Linked DNA regions of Homo sapiens: regions 1 and 2 are each linked to region 3. Evidence: promoter capture Hi-C in human tissues and cell types (Jung and others, 2019). All regions are on one chromosome and are shown on one strand. The core of a region is centred on a gene start or on the middle of the fragment in contact, and the rest is flanking DNA. Distances in the headings are between cores, read along the strand shown.

Evidence for each region. The method cuts DNA at HindIII sites, captures the fragments that hold promoters and counts their contacts. A contact is called where the count stands out against the background at its distance.
Region 1: a contact is called between a fragment that was not itself captured here and the fragment with the promoter of SERTAD4 in region 3, in 2 of the 25 tissues and cell types used here (aorta and hippocampus).
Region 2: a fragment that was not itself captured here is called in contact with the fragment with the promoter of SERTAD4 in region 3 in 2 of the 25 tissues and cell types used here (aorta and hippocampus).

The regions. Positions count from the first base shown.
Region 1 is chr1:210,339,617-210,342,939 of GRCh38, reverse strand. The region is part of intron 1 of HHAT (hedgehog acyltransferase); the gene reads right to left. Among named protein-coding and RNA genes, the nearest start is that of HHAT, 12 kb to the right of the region's middle. The HindIII fragment of the contact is 7,127 bases long and covers 1-3,323 here.
Region 2 is chr1:210,112,557-210,116,074 of GRCh38, reverse strand. The region is part of intron 6 of SYT14 (synaptotagmin 14); the gene reads right to left. Among named protein-coding and RNA genes, the nearest start is that of SERTAD4, 120 kb to the left of the region's middle. The HindIII fragment of the contact is 4,534 bases long and covers 1-3,518 here.
Region 3 is chr1:210,231,530-210,234,983 of GRCh38, reverse strand. SERTAD4 (SERTA domain containing 4) reads right to left here and starts at 2,188. Exons shown (of 4, transcript NM_019605.5): 1 at 1,973-2,188. It overlaps SERTAD4-AS1 (SERTAD4 antisense RNA 1), which reads left to right and starts at 1,099. Exons shown (of 2, transcript NR_024337.2): 1 at 1,099-1,349; 2 at 3,213-3,454. RefSeq lists an enhancer at 1,777-2,310. The HindIII fragment of the contact is 6,882 bases long and covers 1-3,454 here.

The DNA of each region.
Region 1 (3,323 bases), core at 401-2,900, 110 kb before region 3:
TTTCCCTGTTTATTTCAGCTGTGCAGCCAGAAAGTAAATCAGAGTAGATATGTCTTAAGGGATTTATGACACAATGTAAAAGAAAAGGAAAACTATATATTTGGGAATATAACTGGAACCTTTTTAAAATGTCCAGGCCCTTAGAGGTTCCCAAAAACTCTCTCACAAAATTACCAAGTTTCCATTTCTCATACTCTAAACAAGCATGTCCCTCTTTAGGCAGAGCAATCAGGCTGAAATCAAGGAGGTTCTTACTCAAATGTGTAAGTGATGTTTCTTTTCTGTTTTCATGCAGTCAGTCCTGCACCAACATTATCAGCTAAGTGGGTAGCTGTGAGATAGCCTAGAAAAGTCATCACCACTTACAGCATCATTTCTATAGAAAACGGCCAATCTATAGGGACACAGCCTGTGTTTAAGTAGCAGTCTACCTGATTAATCTACACAAATGAGATTGCACTATTGATATGTAATAGTGAAGGAGGGTTGTAGGGATGTGTGATGGTGAGATGTGTCTAAGAACACTTCCCCAGTGTGGGAATACTGGTCGGAACTGTAAAGAAGATAAAGTGTGGATGGTTCAGGGAAGGGAGAACAGGAGCCAAGTGGTAAGGAGTCTTAAAACATACGATTTCATGTTTAAATTTTATTTCCTGCAGAAACCTCAGGCTTGCAAGCCAGTACATAAAATTATTTGAATGAAGCTCTACAAAGCAGCCCCTTGATGCTGTGGTAGACCCAAGAGGCAGGGAGGTTGATGATTTAGGCCCTTAGTGAAAGTGGAGAGAGTGCTGGAACCAAGCCACACAGATGGGGAAAAATTGAGTTGTCCTTGGCATCAAAATAGTCCAGAAGCTGGTAGGGGGAAAAAAGAGGAAGATGAAGAAGATAAAACAGCAACTCCAAAGCTGTAAGACAACAGGATCTTGAAGCTAAATGTTGTTGAAAAGAGTGAGAATTTTGAGGCAAGTGAGGACAAAGCGGTAGAACGTGCATTTAATACTAGATGTTAAAGGAAATCATAGCAAAGTTTTCCCTGGAATCAGAGGGAAGGAATTCAGACTGGAGGAATAGGGAGCTTTCTCCACCTCCAAATTGGGTACAAACACCCCAAGGTTGAATATTTCAAAAAATATATTTATCTGGGAATTATAGAACTCAAGAGGGCCACAGAATAAAATCTTAGCTGTAAAATGGCAAGAATCTCTCAGCTCACAGAACTTTTTCTATACTGGAGCCACTTGCATTTGCATTTACTTTGGAATTTAACACTCCACCTGCTTTCAAAGATGCCATCTACTCGGATCCTCTCAGGAGGGCTAAGTTTTTAGGTCCCTTTCAGGAATCAGAATCCTGCTCAGGAAGAAGCAGCGATCTACCCACGGACAGAGAAGCCAGCAATGGAGCAAAAATTAGAACCAAAATTCCCAACCCCCACTGTCATACAGGCAGAAATCCTGTTCCTTGATCTTGGAAGAAAAGTACAGCACACCTTGCCAAAGCCTGAAACATACATAAACATAACGGCTGCAAGATGCTTTTCCCCCAGCAACTTCCAATATCATTTCAAAAATACTTTAGCTTTACTTCTGATGCAGGCAACTAATGGATTCCAACACTTCCATTTTAAATTTTTTCTGCTTTTAAATCTTGATATCAAGCACTAAATGGGCTATAACCCAATACTCACATGCACCAGAGAACTTTAACAAGACAGCTCTCATCATTAAGCTAACAATCCCTCCATACCAGCATCACCATCGTCACTTCTACTGACTCACTGCTTAATGTCCTAAATGAAGATTTCCCTCTACTGAGTTTTCTTATGCTTTAGTAATAGCTGTACTATAACAAGTACTATTTACAGATTTCCTATGCTGAAAAGGCACTTTACAAGTATTATCTCACTTAATCTTCATAACAAACCTTTGAGGTTGGTGCTTCTGATAACCTCACTTAACACAAGAGGAAACCAAGGCCCAGAAAGGATAAGTAAACCCGCCCCAAATCACACAGCTGGTAAGCAGCAAAGCTTAGATTCATACCCAGTAAGTCTAACTCCAGAGCCTTCCCTCAGCCACCTCACTATTCTTACAGAGTGTACTGGACTCATTTTTTCCAAAATCTATAATGAAATCAATCCATTAGGAAAGCTAGAATATAAGTGGTCTAAATGTAATAGAATTTTTAAACGTTATGCATAACGTTAGACACTCTCTGATAAAAAAATTTAAATCAATAAAATGTAATCAAAATACACATGAAATATCTAACTCACATACATTCCTTAAAAGATTTACTGAAAAAGGCAAACTAAACCTAACCGATTTACCTTGGAAATAAGAGGGGAAAGTCAGCAGTTATGCAGAGATAAGAGTAAAATTGAAATAGCTCTAAATTCAGGAACAAATGAGCACTCTGGAAACCACAAGCAATAAAAGTGAAAGAAGCACATGCCCACTGAAATGACAACGGCTTTAAAGAAAATGAAATAGTAGTGCAATATTCTAGCATATTCGGAAAAAGTGGTATGAGACTTTTGCCTTTTCCAGGGTCCAATTTTCATGAAACTGAATCCCATTTTGTAGACTCTAAATTACATGATTTTCTCCAAGAAAACCACCAAGTCCAGATTCCCATATCACAATTCTCTCCAAACCCCACTTGAGTCTTTTTTTTTTTTTTTTTTTTTTTTTTCTGAGACAGAGTCTTGCTCTATCCCCCAGGCCGGAGTGTGCTGCCCCACTAATTTTTGTGTTTTTAGTAGAGACTGGGTTTTGCCATGTTGCCCAGGCTGGTCTTGAACTCCTGGCCTCGAGTGATCCTCCCGCCGCAGCCTCCCAAACTGCTGGAATTACAGGTGTGGGCCACTGTGCCCAGTCCCCATTTAAGAGTCTTACAAAGACTTATTCTTCAACCCACATAATACTAAGAGGAAACACTTCTCCAAACCCAGAAAGGTTTCACCAACACAGAAGAATGACTAGATAGACTGGAAGAGGTGCACTGGAGTGGGGAAAAAAGTCTAATTACAGAATAGTTTAAAATATATACCCACTACTTCCACATCCGCACCAACATATTATGTATTAGTTATGTATTGCTGCATAAGAAACCATCACAACATGTGATGCCTTAGAACAATGAACATTTATTCTTTTTAAGGATTTTGTGGGATGGCAGTCTGGACAGTTCTGTTCATGTCCCTCCTGAGGTCACTCATGTGACTTCTGTCACCACACAACTCCACTGGGGCTGGAGGGGGCCATGATGACCTCATGCACATGTCTGGCATTTGGCGCCAGCTCACACAAGTCACCTCC
Region 2 (3,518 bases), core at 139-2,638, 120 kb after region 3:
GCTCAGAAGCTCCCCCACTGAGCACCTTGTGACCCCCGCCCCTGCTCACCAGAGAACAACCCCTATTGACTATAATTTTCCACTACCCACCCAAATCCTATAAAACGGCCCACCCCTACCTCTCTTCGCTGACTCTCTTTTCGGACTCAGCCTGCCTGCACCCAGATGATTAAAAAGCTTTATTGCTCACACAAAGCCTGGTGGTCTCTTCACACAGATGCACATGAAATTTGGTGCCGTGACTCAGACTGGGAGACCTCCCTTGGGAGATCAATCCCTTGTCCTCCTGCTCTTTGCTCCATGAGAAAGATCCACCTACGACCTCGGGTCCTCAGACCAACCAGCCCAAGGAACATCTCACCAATTTTAAATCGGGTAAGTGGCCTCTTTTTACTCTCTTCTCCAACCTCTCTCACTATCCCTCAACCTCTTTCTCCTTTCAACCTTGCCGCCATCCTTCAATCTCTCCCTTCTCTTAATTTCAGTTCCTTTCCTTTTCTGGTAGAGACAGAGAAGACACATTTTATCCATGAACCCAAAACTCCGGTGCTGGTAACGGACTCTGGAAGACAGTCTTCCCTTGGTGTTTAATCACTGCGGGGACGCCTGCTTGATTATTCACCCATGTTTCAGAGGTGTCTGATCACTGCAGGGATGCCTGCCTTGATCCTTCACCCTTAGTGGCAAGCACCACTTTCCTGGGGGGCAAGCACCCCCCAACCCTTCTCTCTGTGTCTCTACCCTCTCTTTTCTCTGGGCTTGCATCCTTCACTATAGACAACCTTCCACCCTCCATTCCTCCTTCTTCTCCCTTAGCCTGTGTTCTCAAGAACTTAAAACCTCTTCAACTCACACCTGACCTAAAACCTAAATGCCTTATTTTGTTCTGCAATGCTGCTTAACCCCAATACAAACTCGACAATGGTTCCAAATAGCCAGAAAATGGCACTTTCGATTTTTCCATCCTACAAGATCTAGATAATTCTTGTCGTAAAATGGGCAAATGGTCTGAGATGCCTGATGTCCAGGCATTCTTTTACACATCAGTCCCTCCCTAGTCTCTGTTCCCAATGCAACTCGTCCCAAATATTCCTTCTTTCCCTCCTGCCTGTCCCCTCAGTCCCAACCCTAAGCATTGCTAAGTCTTTCCAATCTTCCTTTTCTATGGACCCATCTGACCTCTCCCCTCCTCCCCAGGCTGCTCCTTGCTAGGCCGAGCCAGGTCCCAATTCTTCCTCATTCTCTGCTCCCCCACCCTATAATCCTTTTATCACCTCCCCTCCTCACACCTGGTCCAGTTTACAGTTTTGTTCCATGACTAGCCCTCCCTGACCTGCCCAACAATTTCATCTTAAAGAGGTGGCTGGAGCTAAAGGCACAGTCAAGGTTAATGCTCCTTTTTCTTTATCCGACCTCTCCCATATCAGTTAGCGTTTAGGCTCCTTTTTATCAAATATAAAAACTCAGCCCAGTTCATGGCCCGTTTGGCAACAACCCTTAGATGCTTTACAGCCCCAGACCCTGAAGGGTCAGAAGGCCATCTTATTCTCAATATGCATTTTATTACCCAATCTGCTCCCAATATTAAATAAAGCTCCAAAAATTAAATTCCAGCCCTCAAACCCCACAACAGGACTTGATTAACCTCGCCTTCAAGGTGTACAATAATAGAGAAGAGTTGCAATTACCTGCCTCTGCTGTGAGAGGAACCCCAGCCACATCTCCAGCACACAAGAACTTCAAAACACCTAAGCCACAGTGGTCAGGCGTTCCTTCAGGACCTCCTCCCCCAGGATCTTGCTTTAAGTGCTGGAAATCTGGCCACTGGGCCAAGGAATGCCTGCAGCCCGGGATTCCTCCTAAACCATGTCCCATCTGTGAGGGACCCCACTGGAAATCGGACTGTCCAGCTTGCCTGGCAGCCACTCCCAGAGTCCCTGGAACTCTAGCCCAAGGCTCTCTGACTGACTCCTTCCCAGATCTTCTCGGCATAGCGGCTGAAGACTGACACTGCCCGATTGCCTCAGAAGCCTCCTGGACCAACACAGACTCTTTCAGTAACTCTTACAGTGGAAGGTAAGTCCGTCCCCTTCTTAATCAATGTGGAGGCTACCAACTCCACATTACTTTCTTTTCAAGGGCCTATTTTCTTTGCCTCCATAACTGTTGTGGGTATTGATGGCCAGGCTTCTAAACCTCTTAAAACTCCCCAACTCTGGTGCCAACTTGGACAACATTCTTTTATGCGCTCCTTTTTAGTTATCCCCACCTGCCCAGCTCCCTTATTAGGTGGAGACATTTCAACTAAATTATCTGCTTCCCTGACTATTCCTAGGCTACAGCCACACCTCATTGCCACCCTTTTCCCCAGTTCAAAGCTTCCTTCACATCCTCCCCTTCTATCTCCCCACCTTAATCCACAAGTATGGGACACCTCTACTCCCTCCTTAGCAACCGATCATGCACCCCTTACCATCTCATTAAAACCTAATCACCCTTACCCCGCTCAACACCAATATCCCATCCCACAGTATGCTTTAAAAGGATTAAAGCCTGTTATCACTTGCCTGTTACAGCATGGCCTTTTAAAGCCTATAAACTCTCCTTACAATTCACCCATTTTACCTGTCCAAAAACCGGACAAGTCTTACAAGTTAGTTCAGGATCTGTGCCTTATCAACTAAATTGTTTTGCCTATCCACCTCATGGTGCCAAACCCATATACTCTCCTATCCTCAGTACCTCCCTCCACAACCCCTCCACAACCCATTATTCTGCTCTAGATAAACCTAGCTGACCCCACAGATCCTAAATCCTTTCCCCACTCCCCTTTCCATTCCTTAAAAAACAGCTCCCACACTAGCTCTCCCTAACTCATCACTCCCTTTTCATTACACACAGCCGAAGTGCAGGGCTGTGCGGTCAGAGTTCTTACACAAGAGCCGGGACCACGCCCTGTAGCCTTTTTGTCCAAACAACTTGACCTTAGTGTTTTAGCTTAGCTCTCATGTCTGCGTGCGGCGGCTGCCGCTGCTTTAATACTTTTAGAGGCCCTCAAAATAAAAAACTATGCTCAACTCACTCTCTACAGTTCTCAAAACTTGCAAAATCTATTTTCTTCCTCACACCTGACGCATATACTTTCTGCCCCCTTCCACCACCTCTCAGCAAGCTGAACTCATTGCCTTGACTCGAGCCCTCACTCTTGCAAAAGACTACATGTCAATATTTATACTGACTCTAAATATGCCTTCCATATCCTGCACCACCATGCTGTTATATAGGCAAAAAGAAGTTTCCTCACTACGCAAGGGTCCTCCATCATTAATGCCTCTTTAATAAAAACTCTTCTCAAGGCTGCTTTACTTCCAAAGGAAGCTGGAGTCATTCACTGCAAGGGCCATCAAAAGGCATCAGATCCCATCGCTCAGGGCAACACTTCTGCTGACAAGGTAGCTAAAGCAGCAGCTAGCTTCCAACTTCCGTCCCTCACTGTCAGTTTTTCTCCTTCTCATCGG
Region 3 (3,454 bases), core at 939-3,438:
ATGACACTTCCAGCATCCCCAGAAGACTGAGGGCTAGAATGCCAAGCTTTTCCAGCAAATGTTCGTAGTAAAGTTACCAGGCATTTCTATACAATTTGTTTTTTTCCAGATGAGTTGGGCTTGTTCTTTCCTAGAAGCAATTATGATGCTAATAGGAGTGGCTGGCACACAAAACAGGGTAGCTATGAATTCAGCGGCACCTTGAATCTAACAAGGGGCTCCAGGTCATTCTTTGCTCACTTCTTCTTCCATCTGTCATTGAAAATTGGAGAGCATTTGATTAAGATCATTATAGCAGTTAGCAGTCTGATTCCAGCACTGGAAAGCAGGGAAGTAAAGGGCTATTTCCACCCCCGATCGATGCTGCCAGTTTTAAATGGCATCAAGCCCCTGACCTCCACATTGTCCCAAAATGATCTCAATAGCTTGTCCGGCTCCTGGTGGTGGTAGTGGAAGGGACTGGATGGGCGGAACAAAATTCTTCAACCCTTCTAAACAAACAGATGTCGCTTTTCTGCCGTTCCTGCAGTACACCTGTCTGCCCTGGGAAGTACATTTCTCAGCTGCAGCCCCGCGAGGCCAAGAGCTTGAAGCTGGGTCCTGTGGTTGGGGCTGCAGGTGCTGGGCCTAAAGAGCACGAAGGGGTGCTCCGATGCCCGAGCCCTGGTGCCCAAGGTGTGTGTGTGTGTGGCGGTTGCGGGGGTGGGGTCCGAGGTTTGGAGGGCCGACCTCTTGAAGGCGGGCGGCAGCCACCAACCACATCCTGGCTCCCGCACAGACACACCCCCGGGGTGTCGGTGCCGCAGCCCTCAGCCCCTCCCCGGGTAGCCAGCAGCGCCCGGTCGGCCGCTGGCCGCAGGAGAAAGTAAACAACACCCCAAGTGTCCGGGAACAAAGGCAAGTTGTCTTTCTACGGTGCCGCAGCCGTGTGCCTCTTCTGAAGAATAAGAGCTATTATTATTCTTTATGTCTTATCCTTTTTTTTTTTTAAAAAAAAAACCAAGTTTCCTTCTAAGGGAAATAAACACCAAAGGTAGGATTCCAAGGAAATGACTCACAGCGGCTGGCAGGGCTCTGGCGGGGCTGGCCCGGGCCCCCGCGCTCCAGCCCGCAGCAGATGTCGGCCCGGCCTTCCCTCCCTCCCTTGCCGGCCAAACCCGCTGGAAGCCCGCGGTTGCGGGAGCGCCCTGCGCCCGTGGGACCTGGCGGCGAGGACGCCTATTCCCTGCTTCTGCGACCACAGCTGGGCACTCGGAAAGTTGCTAGGGCCGAAGAGGCGGGAGGGGAGGAAGGGAAGCGAGAGGCGGAGGCGTGGACCAGGCGGGCAGCAGCCTCAGCCCGCCGAGGAGGTGAGCTGAGGACAGAGGAGCCGCCGCCGCCCGCAGCGCAGCTCTGCTGCCTGGGAGGAGGGTGCGGGGGCGGAGGTGGCGGGGGACAGAAGGTGTCAGCTACTGCATCAATTCCTTTTTCTTGCAAACGCGCGCTCCTGACATCCACAATCCCTCTCTCCCCACCTGCCAAGCGCCGCGGCATCCGGACCTGGGGGCACCCCTCCTACTTAACCCCTTCCCCTACGATGAGGGACTAAGCGGCCACGGAGGACCATGAGGTCTCACCAGAGCTTCTGACCCCACCCGCCCCTGGAGTTGTCTCGGTGCGCGCGGGTGGCAGCCCGAGCAGCCCTAGAGGAGGCGGCGGTTCCCGCCCTGGTGAAGGCGCCGCGGCGCACGCTAGCCCAGGGAAAAGCCCGCGCCGCCTCCGCGCCCAGCTGTGCCTTGGCCCCCACGCCGCCCCGACTCCGCTCCGGCCGCTGCGAGTCCACTCGGTGACCTCGGCACAGCCCTGGTGCCAAGAGGGCGCGCGGGAGGCCGCGTGGGTGCCCGTCTGCGAGGGCAGGAGCCCCGGGGGGCCCTCGCCCTCCACCCTGCCCGGCCCTCCCGCCCCCGCGGCCCGCGCCCAGCCCGGCTCTTACCGCGGGGTCAGCGGGGAGGCGGCGGCCGCAGCGCTTGAGCTGCTGCTGGTCCGCTCTGGGCTCGGCGCCAGCCCGGCCGCCGGTGCACACTCGCGGGTCCCGGCCCGGCCGCCCGCTCGGCGGTGACTGCGGGTGCGCGGCGGGCAAGGGTCCCGGCAGGTCCCGCCGCCGCGACTGGGGCGCTGCGCCGCCGTCGCTGCAGACGGTTATGGTAATGAGCGGCTCTGTCTAGCGAGGAGCGTGTGAAACCCGTCAATCCTGTTTGCCATTTCCCCGTGGATTTCCGAGGAGAGGTTCTGCAGGATGCCCCCAGGGTGAGAGAGGGAACATGACAAGCGCGCCCGCTCTCCCTCCCTCCCTCTGCTCAGGCCGCCGCCGCCGCTCCTCAGGCTGCACACGGGGCGCCTTTCCCGCACCCCCACCCCAGCCCGCCCCCTGCCTCCTTCCCTGCTTCCCGCCCTCCCTCCTCCTTTTCCTCCCCTCCCCTCCCGGTGCCCGGGGACACGCGGGCCCAGCTCCAGCCCGCAGCCCAGACCCCACGCGCTCTCGGGCTCCCGCCCTAGCCCTGGGGGCTTGGCTCCAGCCGAATAATGTATTCACTCTGGAACCTTCCGAGATATCTTGTCTTTTTAAATTTGGTTTAGTTTTGTTGTTGTTGTGTGTGCGTGTGATTAAAAAAAAAATCTGTGCCTTTCCCACCCTTTGCAAAAGACTTTCTTCTCCTTTGCCACAGCAAACGGAGATGAGAAACAGATGTCTTTGCAGGACCAAACAGTTATTCTCCCTCGCCGCCCGCCCCCGCCCGTTTCCCTCCTGAGCTGCGTACGTATTAAAAAAAAAAAAAAAAGCAACCTTGGTCCTGCTGCAACTTGAATTGGCAACCCTTTCTGGGTGGGGAGCCTCCAGGGAAAACCTCCAGGAAATAAAAAGTAATACAAGAGATTGTCCTTGCTCAAGAGAATGTAATTTAAGCCTTGGAATCAGAATATTTTGCAAATAGTAATTTTCTCCTATAGTGGCCTCAGAGTTTATTTTTTAAAATCATTAATTCATAACTTCTGTCTAGGGACCCCTCCATAGTCGAGATGGGTCATTTCAGGTGTAATGAAGGCAGAGGCTTGGAAGGCATAGACCTAATAAAATCGGGAGAAGGCACCTGCACAAAAGTGTTACAAAGACTATAATGTTTGTTTACTGCCACTATACCAGATGTGCTAAATATAACACTTCTTTAAAACAGTGATCCTCCGACTGTGAAAAACCAGACCTCTGGCTGCCTGGCTCCCTAGGAATCAAGAAGACGCACAGACTGAAAATCAAGGGAGGAAGGAACAAGATCAAGGATGAGGATTAGCATCTGCAAATTGAACTCTATCTAATTTGCATGTTTATTTCTTAGAATTGTAATTAAATTTGTGTAATAAATGTTTTCCATTTCATTTGTACACTTAAAACTTGGGTGACTGACATGCAGTTAAGTGA